Regions from separate parts of the Homo sapiens genome. Here region 2 is linked to region 1. Evidence: promoter capture Hi-C in 16 types of primary human blood cells and fetal thymus (Javierre and others, 2016). All regions are on one chromosome and are shown on one strand. Each heading gives the region's core, a stretch centred on a gene start or on the middle of the fragment in contact. The rest is flanking DNA. Distances are from core to core; before and after follow the strand shown.

Region 1 (6,904 bases), core at 199-2,698:
AGTCTCATAGTGCTTGAACGGCAGGGTCCTGGTTCAAACACAGTTCAAGTAAATAGTCACAGGATGTGAGGCTGGCTCTCAGTTTGTGTAAGGAAAAACTCGTACTTGTTTAAATTTGTTAAAATAGAACCCATCTGCAATATCCCCTGGACTCATCTAAGAAAAAAGCAAAAGTCAATCCTAATGGAACGTTCAGGAGCCTGAGGATCTGGTGTGGCCAGGGGGTGGACTAGACTGGGTGGAGATATTTTGTTACATGTAGAGAAACAGCCCAAGTGCTTTGTTCACTAGCAGGGAATAAATTGGGTCTTTCTTAAGCCAGGAAGAGAAGAGGATTTTAGAGACGAGGGCTTCCTACGGAAAATACCCAACATTCAAAAGGGCAGGGGGGTAGGGCCCCATATTTGTTCTCTCTTGTCCATGCTGTAGGCTGTTACGGGGGAAGAGGATAGGTCTACAGGCGCAGTCTCCCATGGAAGCATGGAAAATGCAAGAGTAAAGCAAGGAAAAAAAGAAAAGTGACTACAGCTTAAAAAAATCTAAACCCAAACTCAAACCTAAAACCCAAACCCACCCCAAATGGGTTGTGGGAAAGGATTCTACTAACAATTGAAAATGGAACATCCACCACTGGACTTCAGGCTGTGAGAGTTCAGTCTGATTAATTAAGGTCAAGGTGGTGATGGAAATACCAGCTGGGGAGCATTTTGCCGAAAGATAAATTTGTCCCTCTGTATTTCTGCGAGACAGCAGGGAGGTGTGTGTTTGGAGCTAAATTAATTTGATTTACATCATGCCATGGTAACTTCTGTTCTCTCTCCCCCCTCCTCACCAACCCGCTGTCAGATGTCTTAGCTGGCTTTTTCCCTCTTCTTCTTCACCCCCACACATTTCATAACACGGAAAGAAAGCACGAATTGGCTTCAGGCAGAATTTAGACATAGAATAACTCTAATTTGATTATTCTGCATTGAGTGCTATTCTCTTCGCCCCCCAATCCCTTTCTTTCTTGAGAGAGAGAGAGAAGTTGTAAGCCCGGGCATAAGTGCTATTTATTTTTATATTGTGCTTAATGGTGCAAACTGCTTGACTGTTCCTTGTATGCTCACCTACCCTCCTCCTGTGTTTCTCCAACAACACTAATACCAGAAAATGAAGTTATGGCCCGGGATCCCGTTAGGAATGCGCTTTTTCTGGCCCTATGTCTTTCAGCTCCGTCAGGCTTTGGAGGCCGGGGCGGAGGGCACCTCTTGAGGGACCCTGTACAGCCGGGCCCTGGCACCTCCGGAGGGGCGGAGAGGGCCCCCTGTGACCGCGTTCGGCCCACCACCGTTCCAGCGGCGGGGCGCGCTCGGCAGGGCAGGATAAGGTTACGCCGGGGCTTCCTCGGTCGGGAGGGAGGGAGGCGGGTCCGAGCCCGCACCCCGGCCCGCGGGGGAGTTCCCACAGTTGGCCGCTCCGGCCTGTGGGGCTACATCCCTGCTGCCGGCCAGGCGCGGCCCGCGGGACCCCGAGTGTAGCGCCATGGCCCGGGAGAGGCCGCCCGGGAGGGGCTGCGGCGTCCTGCGCCGGTGTCTACTCGGGGCTGTGCTGTTGTTCGGCCTGCGGCTCTGCGCAGAGCTGCGGCGCGCCGGGCCCGGGTCCCCCACCCGCAGCGCCCCGCCGGGCCCGGCCTGGCGGCCACCTGGGCCGCACCTGCCGCCCGCGCCGGGCCAGCCGCGCGGCGCCAGCAGGAGGCAGGTGACCTACGTGCGCAGCGGTCGCCGGGCGCCGCCGGGGGGCGGCGGGAGCGGGACGCCGGAGCCTGGCTGCTGTGCCCCGCGCGGGCGCCCCCGCCGGAAGGTCAGTTGCAAAGCGGTCGGTCTTGGGCCTGGGACCAGAAGCCCCCTCCCGACCGCGCTACGGAGCCCGGCGCTCAGGTCCCGCAGGCCGCCTCGATGGGACCTCCGGAGGCTTCCGCTTCTTCTCTTCCCCCTGTGCTCTCTTAGGCGGCTCCACGGGTCGCATCTTTCAGTGCCCAGATAGACTGAAGTGCGGCCAAGCGGAGTTCATTCACTATTCAGCCAGTACTTGGGGGTCGCCGTGGCCGGGCGCCCTTCTAGGCTCCGCGCATCCCGTGAAGAAGGACGGAGCCCTGTTCTCACGGAGGATACACTTTAGTAGGGGAGTGTTTGCGTGATAGGCAGGGAAAGGGAAAGGGAAAGGAAGGCGTTGTGGCTGCCATTGATGTGCTGTGCTGCTCCCAGCCTTCTGCTTAAGGCCTGGACAGAGTTGGGTGGGTATCGCCGTGAATGGCCTGTCCACGCCACTGCCTTCATCTCGCTGAAGATCCACCAGCTGGCCGAATTTCCCTGGAGTCTCATTCCAGGCGTTGGCTGGGGGCTGGGAGGCTGGCGCCAGTTGAGAAGCCGAGCACCCAGCCCCACTTAATGAGAAGTTAATTGGATCCTCGAGGACCCAAGTAATAACCTGGGTTTGTCTTATAACTCTCGACCGTGTTGTGCCTCCTACCTCATTAACTTCTTGGCTTACACCTCACTGATTAGTCCATTTTTAGCCTCTGATTGTTAAGGTTTTGGGCTCATCTCCTTTTTGGAGCTCGGTAATTTGCGTCGTACATGGAAATGAAAAGAACTACAGGTATGAGCTCTCCTCATCCTTTTACCCATCAACTCCTGCTTCCAGCCTCAACCACGTTCTCCAAAGCAACTACTTTCCGTTGCCCGGCTGTTCCTCGTTTCTTTTAGACATCCACCCCAACCTCCACCCCGCTTCCCATCACCGGTCCTGGAGGGGAGGGAACAACTCTTCCTTTGCCTCGCTGCTGTCTTCGGCTGCCCAGTGCTAGCCTACTTTTCAGCACCACAACCCAGCACTCCTGCCGGGCTTCACTTCCTCGCTTCCTTCGGGCCTCGCCCTCCGTTTTTCCACACCACTGCTGTTCCTTGCTGGGCCATCGTGCTAACTTCCTGGATAAACTGAAATACCTTTTTCTATCTCGCAAACCTCACCTCCTGTGTAAAGTCTTGATTAGATCTTCCAGAAGAAAGCAGCCACTTCCTCTCCAAGTTCCTAATTCACTGTCCGTGATACCATGTTAAACATTCAGCACAGTTTTGCCAAGGGCTTACCAGGTAGGCATCTGGTGCTGGAGGCACAAAACGAGTTCAGATTCTCGTGGGGGAGGCTCTTAGCACAGGCATCCGGTGATTTCCAATCCTGTAATTGAGGCCTTCAGCTCTGCCTGGGGAGTCAAGAAAGGCTGCTCAAGGCGGGGGACATATTTGAGTTACAATGTGATGTTTCTTTCTTTTCTTTTTCTTTTCTTTTCTTTTCTTTTTCTTTTTTTTATTTGAGCCGGAGTCTTGCTGTGTCGCCCAGGCTGGAGTACAGTGGCTTGATCTTGGCTCACTGCCACTTCCGTCTCCCGGGTTCAAGCGATTCTTCTGGCTCAGCCTACCGAGTAGCTGGGATTACAGGCGTGCACCACCACGCTGGGCTAATTTTTGTATTTTTAATAGAGATGGGTTTCACCATGTTGGCCAGGCTGGTATCGAACTCCTGACCTCAAGTGACCCACCCGCCTCAATCCCCCAAAGTGCTGGAATTACAGGCGTGAGCCACTGCGCCTGGCCAACACTGTGATGTTTCTTAAGAGTGGGGCTTCTTTTATTCCCCTCTGGATGTCCTCAATGTTCCATCCTTGACACCCTCAACCCCTCCCTGCAGTTTTCCTTTTAGATTCACTCAGCATCTGTTGTTTCTGCTGTCATCTGTCAAGTAATTACTCTTAACTCTTTGTCTGTACCTCAAACGACAGTACTGATGGCTGGAGCCTGTCCTACAAAGGACAGGTTTGGAATGCATAGACTCAGTGGGGCGCTGGAGGGGAGGTTCACACTCATCCCTGCTAGGAGCTAGGAGGCTGCCACAGTGATTCAGGCTGGAGATGGGGGTGGCTTGCTGTGGTAGGTGTGGAGGTGGTGAGAAGTGGTTGGTTTCTGGATGTGTTTGGAAGGTGGATGAGGAGGAGCAGTTATTTCTCTCTTGTTTGTTTTGTTTGGGGGATAGATGGAAAGCAGGAATTCAGTTTAAGATATCCTTCAGGCATGCATGTGAAAATGTCAAATAGGCAACCGGACGTGTGAGTCCAGAGCTTGGAGGAGATGTCCAGGCTGAAGGTGGTGATTTGAGAATCATCCAAGTACAAATGGCAGTAAAACTGAGAGATCGTATGTGGTCATCTAGGAAGTGAGTGTGGCTAACAAAGAGAAGCAATCCGAGCCTGTGGCCTGGGGCTCAGTTTTATTACAATTAAATTAGGGAAAAAAGTAAAGGAAATGTTTAGCTTTGTGCCTGGCATGTTTAGCTCTCAATAATGGTAGCTTTACTTTCTACAGTAGGCCCCAGGTTTTTAGCCTCAGCCAGTCTCCAAACGTCATTCACTGTAACCTACAAAGGTGGCTTATGCTCACTCCTCTACCTGCAAGGCCCCATCCCCCTTTCTTATGACTCCTGCCCTTTTCACCCTTGGACATTCCTCAGGTCAAGGTTCATAGCCCAGAAACCTTCCCATAGCAACCCTGCTTCATGCTGACCCCTCCCCCACTTGGAATGACAACAGAAAGAGTCTGATTTGTGCATTGCTTTGTACAAGTTGAGGCCTGATAATCCATTTCGGATGGAATGTTTTGTCTCCACAGTTGTTCTTGATGGGAAGGATTGTATTTCCCATAGTGACCCCTAGTAAATGTTTACTCCTGAGACCCCAGTATGTGAAAGTATAAGAATCTTACTATTTCAGCCTATTCAGTAACTGTAAATGTCTTTGGTTAAAAATTTATAAGAAATAAATGGGCCTTTTGCTATTTCTAAAATATTAAGTTTTTAGTCTCCTAAGGTAAACATTTTCTTAGATTTCCTTCTCGCTAGCTATTATTTTCGGGATATACATCTAACCTTCCCAAATCCCTAGATAGTGTTGATCTTGAATTTGTTTTATTCTCCCATTATTTCACAGTTGAATTAAAATATTCCTTAAAACTATAGAAAGATCAGTTATCTAATCCATCCTCCCACTTCTGGGAACAAAGCTCAATAACCCCATATCTCTCTAGGGACAAGTCTTGTTTCTTTTCTGCCTCACATCAAGACAGCACTGTAATGTAAGCTGAATGTACCATTAAGTAATTGAAATAAAATTAGGAAGCTATTTGTTAAACTCCTTGGATCACAGTGTATTTAGATTTTGTTTGTTGAGAATACTGATCAACAATATTCTTAGGTTCTTGGTTACTTTGCCCCAGGCACCTCCCAGATTGATAAAGGAGAAAAAGTTCCATTCTATTTTGAGGACAGCTTTCTGGGTAGATGAAAACCTGCATGAAATAATTGGGTTGCCAAGTATTTCTTGTTACTCTGCTTCCATTCCAGGTGTTAGAGGCACCAAAATTCTGCCACTTTAATCACAGCTTATGCTCCTCTTAAAGAAAACAATCTGCTATAAAAAAGAGTAGTGAAGTGTAGTCCTCATATAATTCTTTCTTTCCTCGTCCCCTTCTTCATGGAGCCATGCAAGAACTAGCTCTAAATATTTTCAGATCTTTCGACATCAGGGGTTCTAATCTTCAAGCTTTGCAAAATGAGAGCCAATGATAGATGATGGATAAATACTGCCCTTTTTGATTATGCCCACCCTGGAACCTATATATTCTTGTGTATTACAGATTCTTTAAGCATTCTGTCGGGACTCTTCATCTCCAAATTTCGCATACTATGCATGCATAAAAATACCACTGTGATTCTTTTATTTTCTCTCTGTTTTCTATCTGCATGTGTTTCTGTTTGGGTTTTTTTTCTTTCTTAAATGAAACAGACCTTTACTATGATTACAGATAAAGTTCTTTTTGAAGGGATTTATAGAGGACTAGATATGGTCTTCATGATTTATGCTTTTTAATGCAGCTCTTGGGTGGATGTTTTATCTCTTATAGGTTGGCAATCCACCTAAAAGACAGATGCAACATACAGGGCCCATTTGCAAAAGAGAGACACTCACTCAGTGGCCAAGCTTCCCGAAAAAGTTTCATCTCTCTTATCGGATATATTTTACTTGACATTTAATATGTTGGATAGAAAAGTGACTTCTGAGTCACAGAGCTCCAGAACCCAGCAATGTGCTGGCTTGGTTCGTTAGTTACAGATCTTTTGGAACCATGTGTCAGGCGGAAAAAAAAAAAAAAAAAAAAAGAACTGTTTCCTCTTCTCCTGAAAAACCATATGGCAAAATTTGGTTTTTCTTTCTCACTTCTTGTCATCTTCTTAGTTTTCTAATTCTGTGATTGTCATCAAGAAGAAAGAGGAAAAATGGTATGGGATGCCCCCTGATATGTCCAACTGCCTTAAGAGTCCTTATTCTTTACAAAATACTTGAAGATAGGTTTGAATTGCTTGTGAAACATGGCCCAGCAGTAGTTTCTAGCTCCTCAGGTTTTTGCCTGTGTACCTACACTTCTGTTCTTCAGGGAGCAACATTAATCAGTCCTCTCACACTGTCCTTAGGAGGCAAAGCATTTTCATTTTAAACAAAGTCATTGAGGGTAATTGAATAAGCTCCAGCAATATGTGGGTGTGAAATAGCAGTTGCTTAGTCGCACAAAGAAAAGCAGGTTTTTATTACAACTTTGATGTGTCGTGGATGAAGAATAGAGGCCTGCACTTTTTCCAAACCCCGTAGTTCCTCAGAGAGCATTCTGTGGGCAAAGGAACTGCTAATGGAGGCTCGATTGTTTTTCAACCACTGGTGGTGGAGATTTCAGCTTTTTGTGTGTAATTTGTCCCAGTCCATTTTCTCCAAGGAAAAGAATGTCTTGTCAGTTTTCTCAAATAGAATTGGATTTCCTTT
Region 2 (7,289 bases), core at 4,283-6,782, 640 kb after region 1:
CTATAATGGAAAGATGCCTCAAGAATCTTATCGGCCATGCCACTGCGAAAAAAATGCTATTAAAATAATGAAAAATATTGGTATTTTAGAAATCCACAAAACACAAAGTGTTTTTTAAAAAAGGTTAGAGACTCGCCAAAAATGACCTCACTAAAGTTGGAGGACACAGGAATGGGAAGGAAGGAAAAAAAAAAAGCTGATGACAACTTTACTAAAAGCAACTTAGGAAGTAGTCATCCTTTCAGAAATATAAAACTTACAAAAGTAAGCATTTCAGAAGCAGCACACACACCAAAAAACTTAAAAATGGAATGTAATTGGGATTAAATAATAAATATTTACAAGATAAATTAGTTTTCCTTTTATTCTTGCTGTATATTTATTTTTTAGATAAAAATTCTTAGTAATAATTTCTCTCAACCTGCATTCTAATTGAATTTTAATTTTATGTTTTTAGCACCAGGCTATTTATATCATTCTACACTTCCCTTCATAATTTGTATAAGGGAAAGTAAACATACTGCACAAAAGAGACACTCTTCTTCCAGCACAAATGGCTTCAGTATATTATAAATGAGATTATTTTCCACTTCCTTGTTACTACCAATTGGAAATGTCTCTCAACAATTAAAGGCTTCAGCTTGGCATAGACATCCACCAAGAATCAGCCTGTTCATCCTTCTAACATGATGAACACCAGAACAAGTTTCTTCATCTTCATTCTATGTACTTCTGACCCCAGACCAATTTCACTGAGTACTTTCCAGAAGACAAGATGATGGTCGTCATGCAAAAGTGATTTCTCTCTCCAAAATAAAAAAGGCTGTGTCACTTGAGAGGGAAGCCAAGCAAAGTATATTAAAAAGGACAATATGAGAGAATGGAGTAGTATGCAATTCTGGTGGCTGGAGAGGACCCTCATCAGCCCACTAACAGGGAATAGTGTAATATCCTGTATGGGGGGTCACCATGCCAGCCAGCTATTATCTTGAAAGCCTCCACTGAGAACAGCACTCCAGCAGAGAAGGACAAAACCCCCCGCAAGGTACCCAGTGCCTTTGTACAACAGAGCTCTCTGGAACCAAAGTGACATCTCTACTACCAAATCATACTGCCCCCTAACTAGTCTGAGACTCACACTTTTTTGGTGTTTTCACTGTTATCTTGGATCTGCAGTCTATTTGTAAGGGTATTGTTTTAAACAATAGCTTAGTCCATCACAGTGTACCGTATTGATACTTCTTATTTTGCCACTCCCCTTCAACATACTAGAGGCTTAGAAGAGTGTCGTCTGACAGACGACAGTGGCAGAAAAAGGACACGTACCTAAGGGCTGTGTATCAAAAGGAGCTGGGATGATAACAGAACTGAGTAGTATGAACTATAGGTCATTCCATTCATGTGCCCTAGGACCACATAAAACAACTTAGTGATGGATGCTCACGATCCCATCCAGTGGTTTCCCAAACTTCCTGCTGGCTGTCAAATAACAAAGGAACAGATCAGGAATTGGCCAGGCAGCTACAGGACTGGATCAATCCGTTTATAGCAAGGAAAACCCTCTAGGTCAGTAATATTCAAAACATGGCCTAGGGACCAGTGCTGGTCCATGAGCTTTCAGAACCGGCCCGTGAAAAGACAAGTAAACAAATTGAGACGAAGGATTTAGAAACTTTAGAACAATTTAGATTGCCCCACAACATCTGTGTGCATGATCAGTGAATCTGCCCTCACACAGGGCATAGACTAGTTTGGATAGTATTAAACTCGTGTTTTAAGTCACATGTGGTGTTGGTCTGCAACATGTGATATATGTGAGGGAGGGGGAGAAAAATGGTCCTTTATTACAGATCCTAGAGAAGTATTGTTCTAGATTCTCATGACATGTGTACTAAATAAACCATGACAACAATCCAAAACATTCCACCAAAAATATTTTCCACCAATTCAGCATGTTCAAAAAGTTAGTGAAGAAAATATTTTAGCCACAGAATAGAACACAACCATTCTAGTCATTTCACACGTGTTATTTTAACAACTAGACTACACATTTTTCAAAGATAAGTATTTTGTGTTAATAATTTCAGTATCCACTACATTTCTAAGCTTGTACTAGAAAAATCATAGACTTTTATTACTCCCTGTTTACTTTTCATGGATTCTTAACTTTATTTACATGACTGAAGTAGGACACATAAGGCACATTTCCATAAAAATACTAAATGTTTACCAGTACGTTATTGTCTTACTTTACTTGCAGGTTAATCTTACAATGACTTCACCATACATGCACAGTCTCAAAGCTAAAAGGGCTCTAACTTCAACAGAAATAGCTAAGAATGTCACCTTTAAAAGAAACATGGAGACACCTTCAGCCCTCACCCAGAGTTTATTAACCAAAACTTGTGTGTAAATTAAACGTCTGGTTACAAACTTGGTTATCAATTGATTCAAAGAAAAGTTCTAGTTTTACAAGCTTGGTTATCAATAGATTAAAAATGAGGCTAGGAATATGCTAAAAGCAAACATGTCAAGAACAATAAAAGGTGACCAAAGTATTAAAAAAAAACAAAAGAGTCCAGCAGTCTAGAGGCCATTTAATGTAAAGTCAAACAGCCCAATACAACTCTGGAATACCCAAGGACAGCTATTTTTAAACACAGTTCAGGCTGAGCACGGTGGCTTATGCCTGTAATCCTAACACTTTGGGAGGCCAAGGCAGGAGGATTGCTTGTGCTCAGCAGTTTGAGGCCAGCCTGGAAAACAAAGTGAGACCATCACCTCTAAAAAAAAAAAGAAAAGAAAAAACATTAGCCGGGCGTGGCGGCATATGCCTGTAGTCCCAGCTACTCAGGAGCCTGAGGCAGGTAGATCATTTGAGCCCAGGAGGTTGAGGTTGCAGCGAGCTATGACTGGCCACTGTATTCCAGCCTAGATGACAGAGCAAGGTCCTGTCTCAAAGAAAAAAAAAACACACACACACAGACACAAACACACAAAACAAAACCCACACAGTTCAATAAGTGATTTTCACTTCGTTACATTTAATCATCAAGAAAACTTCAATTATGAATAATAAAATCTGGCCAATAAGGCATTCAATAGTATATACACATTATGAAATGCCTATCAAAAAAGTTGTGGCCAGGCATAGTGACTCACATCTGCAATCCCAGCACTTTGGGAGGCTGAGACAGGCAGATTGCTTGAGGCCAGGAGCTTGAGATCAGCCTGGCCAACATGGCGAAACCCCATCTCTACAAAAAATGCAATAACCAGCCAGGCATGGTGGCGCACACTGGTAATCCCAGCTACTCGGGAGGCTGAGGCACGAGAATGGCTTGAACTCAGGAGGTGGAGGTTGCAGTTAGCCAAGGTCGCGCCACTGCACTCCAGCCTGGGTGACACAGCAAGGCTCTGTCTCAAAAAAAAAAAAAAAATGTAATAAGGTATCAACATTTAAGCTTAAACTATTAAGTAACTATTATTTAAATTAGAGTCTACTATATTTTAAACACATTTTATTTACAGTATTTTTTTCTTAAATTTAAAATATAAGCAGGACTGAAAGTGGAATTTAACATACTGGCATTTATGGCATTTAAGCACATGAACTCACGTGACACATACAGACATACACATTCCCACAAACACTCATCCATTCAACATGTAACCTCAAGGGCCTTCTCAAGACTAAGCAAAAGGCATAGAAAAGGGGCCAGGCCTGAGGAGAAGAAACCAGTCATGTTATACTACTCTTTACCTTCCCCTGCAGCCACCTAACACACAAAATGAGCCTAAAGGGATTACGTATGAAGAGCAACGACAGTATTCTTAGAAAAGCAAACTCCAAGGATGGCAGAATATAATCAAAGTTTTCATAGACATACAGTCACAAAATAGAAAGTGCTAAACAGAAGACCCAAAATAAGAATCTGAAAAACATATAGCATAGTCAAGTCCATATTAATTTTGTTAATATCTGTAGAAACCACTGATACGGTTTGCATTTGTGTCTTCACACAAATCTCATGTTCCATTGTAATCCTCCATTGTTGGAGATGGGGCCTGGTGGGAGGTGCCTGGGTCATGGGGATGGATGATTGAATGGTTTACAACCACCCCTTTGGTGCTGTTCTCGTGATACAGAGTTGTCATGAGATCTGGTTGCTTAAAAGTGTTGCTTAAAAATGTGTGGCACCTCCCCCACCATTCCTTAATTAAGCTCCAGTCATCTAAGACACACCTGCTGTCCCTTCCCCTTCTGCCATAATTGTAAGTTTCCTGGGGCCTCCTAGAAGCAGAAGCTGCTATGCTTCCTGTACAGCCTGCAGAACCATGAGCCAATTAAGCCTCTTTTCTTTATAAATTACCCAGTCTCAGGTATTTCTTTATAGCAATGCGAGAACGAACCAATACAACCACTTAATATTACACACAGTCCAGTAGGTTTAAGAAACACAGAGATAATTTCCTAAGTGTTTACAGAAAAAAAGACTCAAAATAAGGTGCTGGCAGCAGAGATGCTAAAATACAATAGCCCTCTGCTTTGGCTTTCAAAGCCCAAAGCAATCTGGCCTTGCCTGACTACTCCCCAGCATTCCCAGCACCTCTGGGTACCTTCATGTATGTGCCTCTGCTGTCACCCTTACTGGAGTTCCCTCTTTTCTTCTCTGCATTTATCCATACCTTGTTCCTCCTTCAAGGTACAGCTCAAGTCTCATCTACTATAGGAAATCTTCCCTGGCCATTCCAGGTCCAAGTAATTTACCTCTTCTGTGACCTCCAACACCATTTAATTCATACTACACAGCTTGGCTCTTACTTATAATCTTAGAGTTGTTTCATGTACATTGGATTTTATCCTCTGCCACAGACCAATCAGGGACAAACCCATAGTACAGTAAAGACAGGTTTATTGATTCACCACAAGGAGGGACAATGCATATCAGAGAAACCATGGAGCATCTTGCTAAAGTAAAGGAGTTATTACAGAATTGGGGGAAAGGTGGAGCTCAGGTAAAATTTAAATGAAGAGGCTCAAACCAAAGCAAGGTGATATTTAAAGAGATCAATATCACGTTTGGACTATGAAGTAGACCAAGGGTCCTGTTTCCTTGAAAACAACAGAATCATCATATCTATGGACTACTGTGTTCAGAAACCTCGTCTCTGAAGCTCTGCACCTGAGTTGGTAAACCAAAGCTGCTTCTCTGTGTCACAGTGACTTGGGTTGTCCAAGTAAATGTGGGATGTTTTATCTTACTAACACAATTTCAAACAGTGAAGTTTCTGATGGTCTGTGATTTTAGAAACCAAAGTTTCTCAGTGAGTTAAAAAAAAAAAAAAAAAGCAGTCATCCAAAGAAGGGGGTTATGACATTTTATAACTATAGACTAACCTTAGGAGAAATTCCTATTAATTTTAAATCCAGTTTTACGTGATTTGTTACTCCAGCTGACGAATGGCAGGGTGGATGTTTACAGTCCAGTCCAAGCTAATTTTTACTTTTTCATTCATCAATGAGACAGACAGCAACCTCCTCAAAGGCCAAAAACATTTTGATATTTGTTTGTATCCTAAATAAAACTGAGCAGTGCTAAGTGCATAAGCAGATGCTACAGAAACGCTGTTTGCTATCTGATTGATGGATAATGAAGTTTTAAATAACCAAAGCTACAGGTAATTATAATTTTAAAGCCTTATAGCCTTATAAACTCCTTTAAGTAGTCTATGTAGAGAAGACAAAAACAAAAAACAAGAGATTGTAAGAAGGGGGGCAGATTTCTTACCCACAACACCAAAAGCTGAAACCGCTCGAAATAAGCCCGAGGATCCTTTCTGTCCCATCTTTGTTCTATTTCCAAGATCCAAGCGGCCAAGAAGTTCCCTTACTTCTTGTTGAGTATAGACATGCTAAGAATAAGCACATTTACTCTGTAAGGTTGTGCTTAAACTTTAGATTATTTATTATTTGTGCCTGAAAGTTAAAAAGTTACCTACAAGCATCATCAGCTATTTCATACAGAAGTATATAATAGTACACAAGTAAGCTACAATTTTAAAAAGCTAACAAGTTCTTTAACATTAGCAATTAAGGTTGGTTATTGGATCATGCTGCTATACTAAAAAAAATGTCCAAACCTTATACTCTAAACCAGAGATGCAGAGATTTAAGGGATCTACAGGTAAATTTCAAGAGTCCATGAATCCCTTAAAACTATGTGCAAAATTTTGAGTAAATGTGCATCTTTAACGAGAAGGCCCATAGATTTTCTTAACATTTCAAAGGGCTCTCTGACCAATTGCTCCGATCTCCAAATAAAGCCAAGAACCATTACATTATATTGTTAAAAATGCTCAGATAGGTGGGGAGCAGAATGGACCCCAGGAGTAGCATGGGAAATCGTAACAAAGAATTTATCTAAAATTATTACAACACAGAAAATAGTTTTGTTACAAGTAGCTTAGTGAAAATGGATTCCAAACTGTAGTTACTACATATTTGAGAAACCAGGAATCTTTATGGATTCCGAAATAGTCACAGACAGGAATTTCAACACAAAAGATAACTTGAGTTCTTTTGTGTGAACAGTTAAACTTAACTGTTCAAACCACCATATAGTATTTCACTTTTGACTAACAGCTTCAGGTTTTTGTGCCATCTGAATTCCAGCCTCTGTATTCTTGACTCTGGATAATCTAACTCTGGATAAGAACAGCTTAACATTTCCTTAGTGTATAGCAAATCATCAGTAAAGGTCCTAGAGGTGATTTTTAGGAGGAAAATAAAGTCTGTAGCATAGAAGTCCTCCCTGACTTCAAGTAGCTTGATATTAAAGAACCATAACAGATCGTCTCTTTGGCAGATACAATATTAAGTTACACTGAATCCTTAAAATGTCAGCCCTCTTTAAGAAACAATACTCATTATCTTATCCTAAGAGTGTGTTTTCGAAAACAAGTCAAAACGAGGGGCAAAGTATAATTCTGGCGTACTTCTTGACACCAGTGATTTCTAGAAATCAGATTGGAGATTCAAATTCTAGCCAACCAAGAAAAATAACGGAAACTTTTAGATTTATGATAAAAATAATATATCACTAAAAACTGTAAGGATATTTCATGTCCTTTAAACAACAGGTATGAAAGTTTTTTTGCAGTCAGGTTTGGAGGATACTTACCCTGTCATCAATTATGACCAAATCTTTTGGTTCTGTTCTATCAATCTTCAAGACACGATATTTCGTTTCTGCATTATTGCTCCCAACTAGAAAGTATCTCTATAA

What was found. The method cuts DNA at HindIII sites, captures the fragments that hold promoters and counts their contacts. A CHiCAGO score of 5 or more calls a contact.
Region 2: a contact is called between a fragment that was not itself captured here and the fragment with the promoter of METTL24 in region 1, in 1 of 17 cell types (total CD8 T cells). The highest score is 5.3, in total CD8 T cells.

What each region holds. Positions count from the first base shown.
Region 1 is chr6:110,352,893-110,359,796 of GRCh38, reverse strand. METTL24 (methyltransferase like 24) reads left to right here and starts at 1,448. Exons shown (of 5, transcript NM_001123364.3): 1 at 1,448-1,842. The coding sequence starts at 1,525. It overlaps LOC102724586 (a long non-coding RNA gene), which reads right to left. Exons shown (of 5, transcript XR_428004.3): 5 at 6,647-6,904. The HindIII fragment of the contact is 9,659 bases long and covers 1-5,634 here.
Region 2 is chr6:109,715,072-109,722,360 of GRCh38, reverse strand. FIG4 (FIG4 phosphoinositide 5-phosphatase) reads right to left here. Exons shown (of 23, transcript NM_014845.6): 2 at 7,185-7,283; 3 at 5,793-5,916. Among named protein-coding and RNA genes, the nearest start is that of FIG4, 27 kb to the right of the region's middle. The HindIII fragment of the contact is 4,131 bases long and covers 3,467-7,289 here.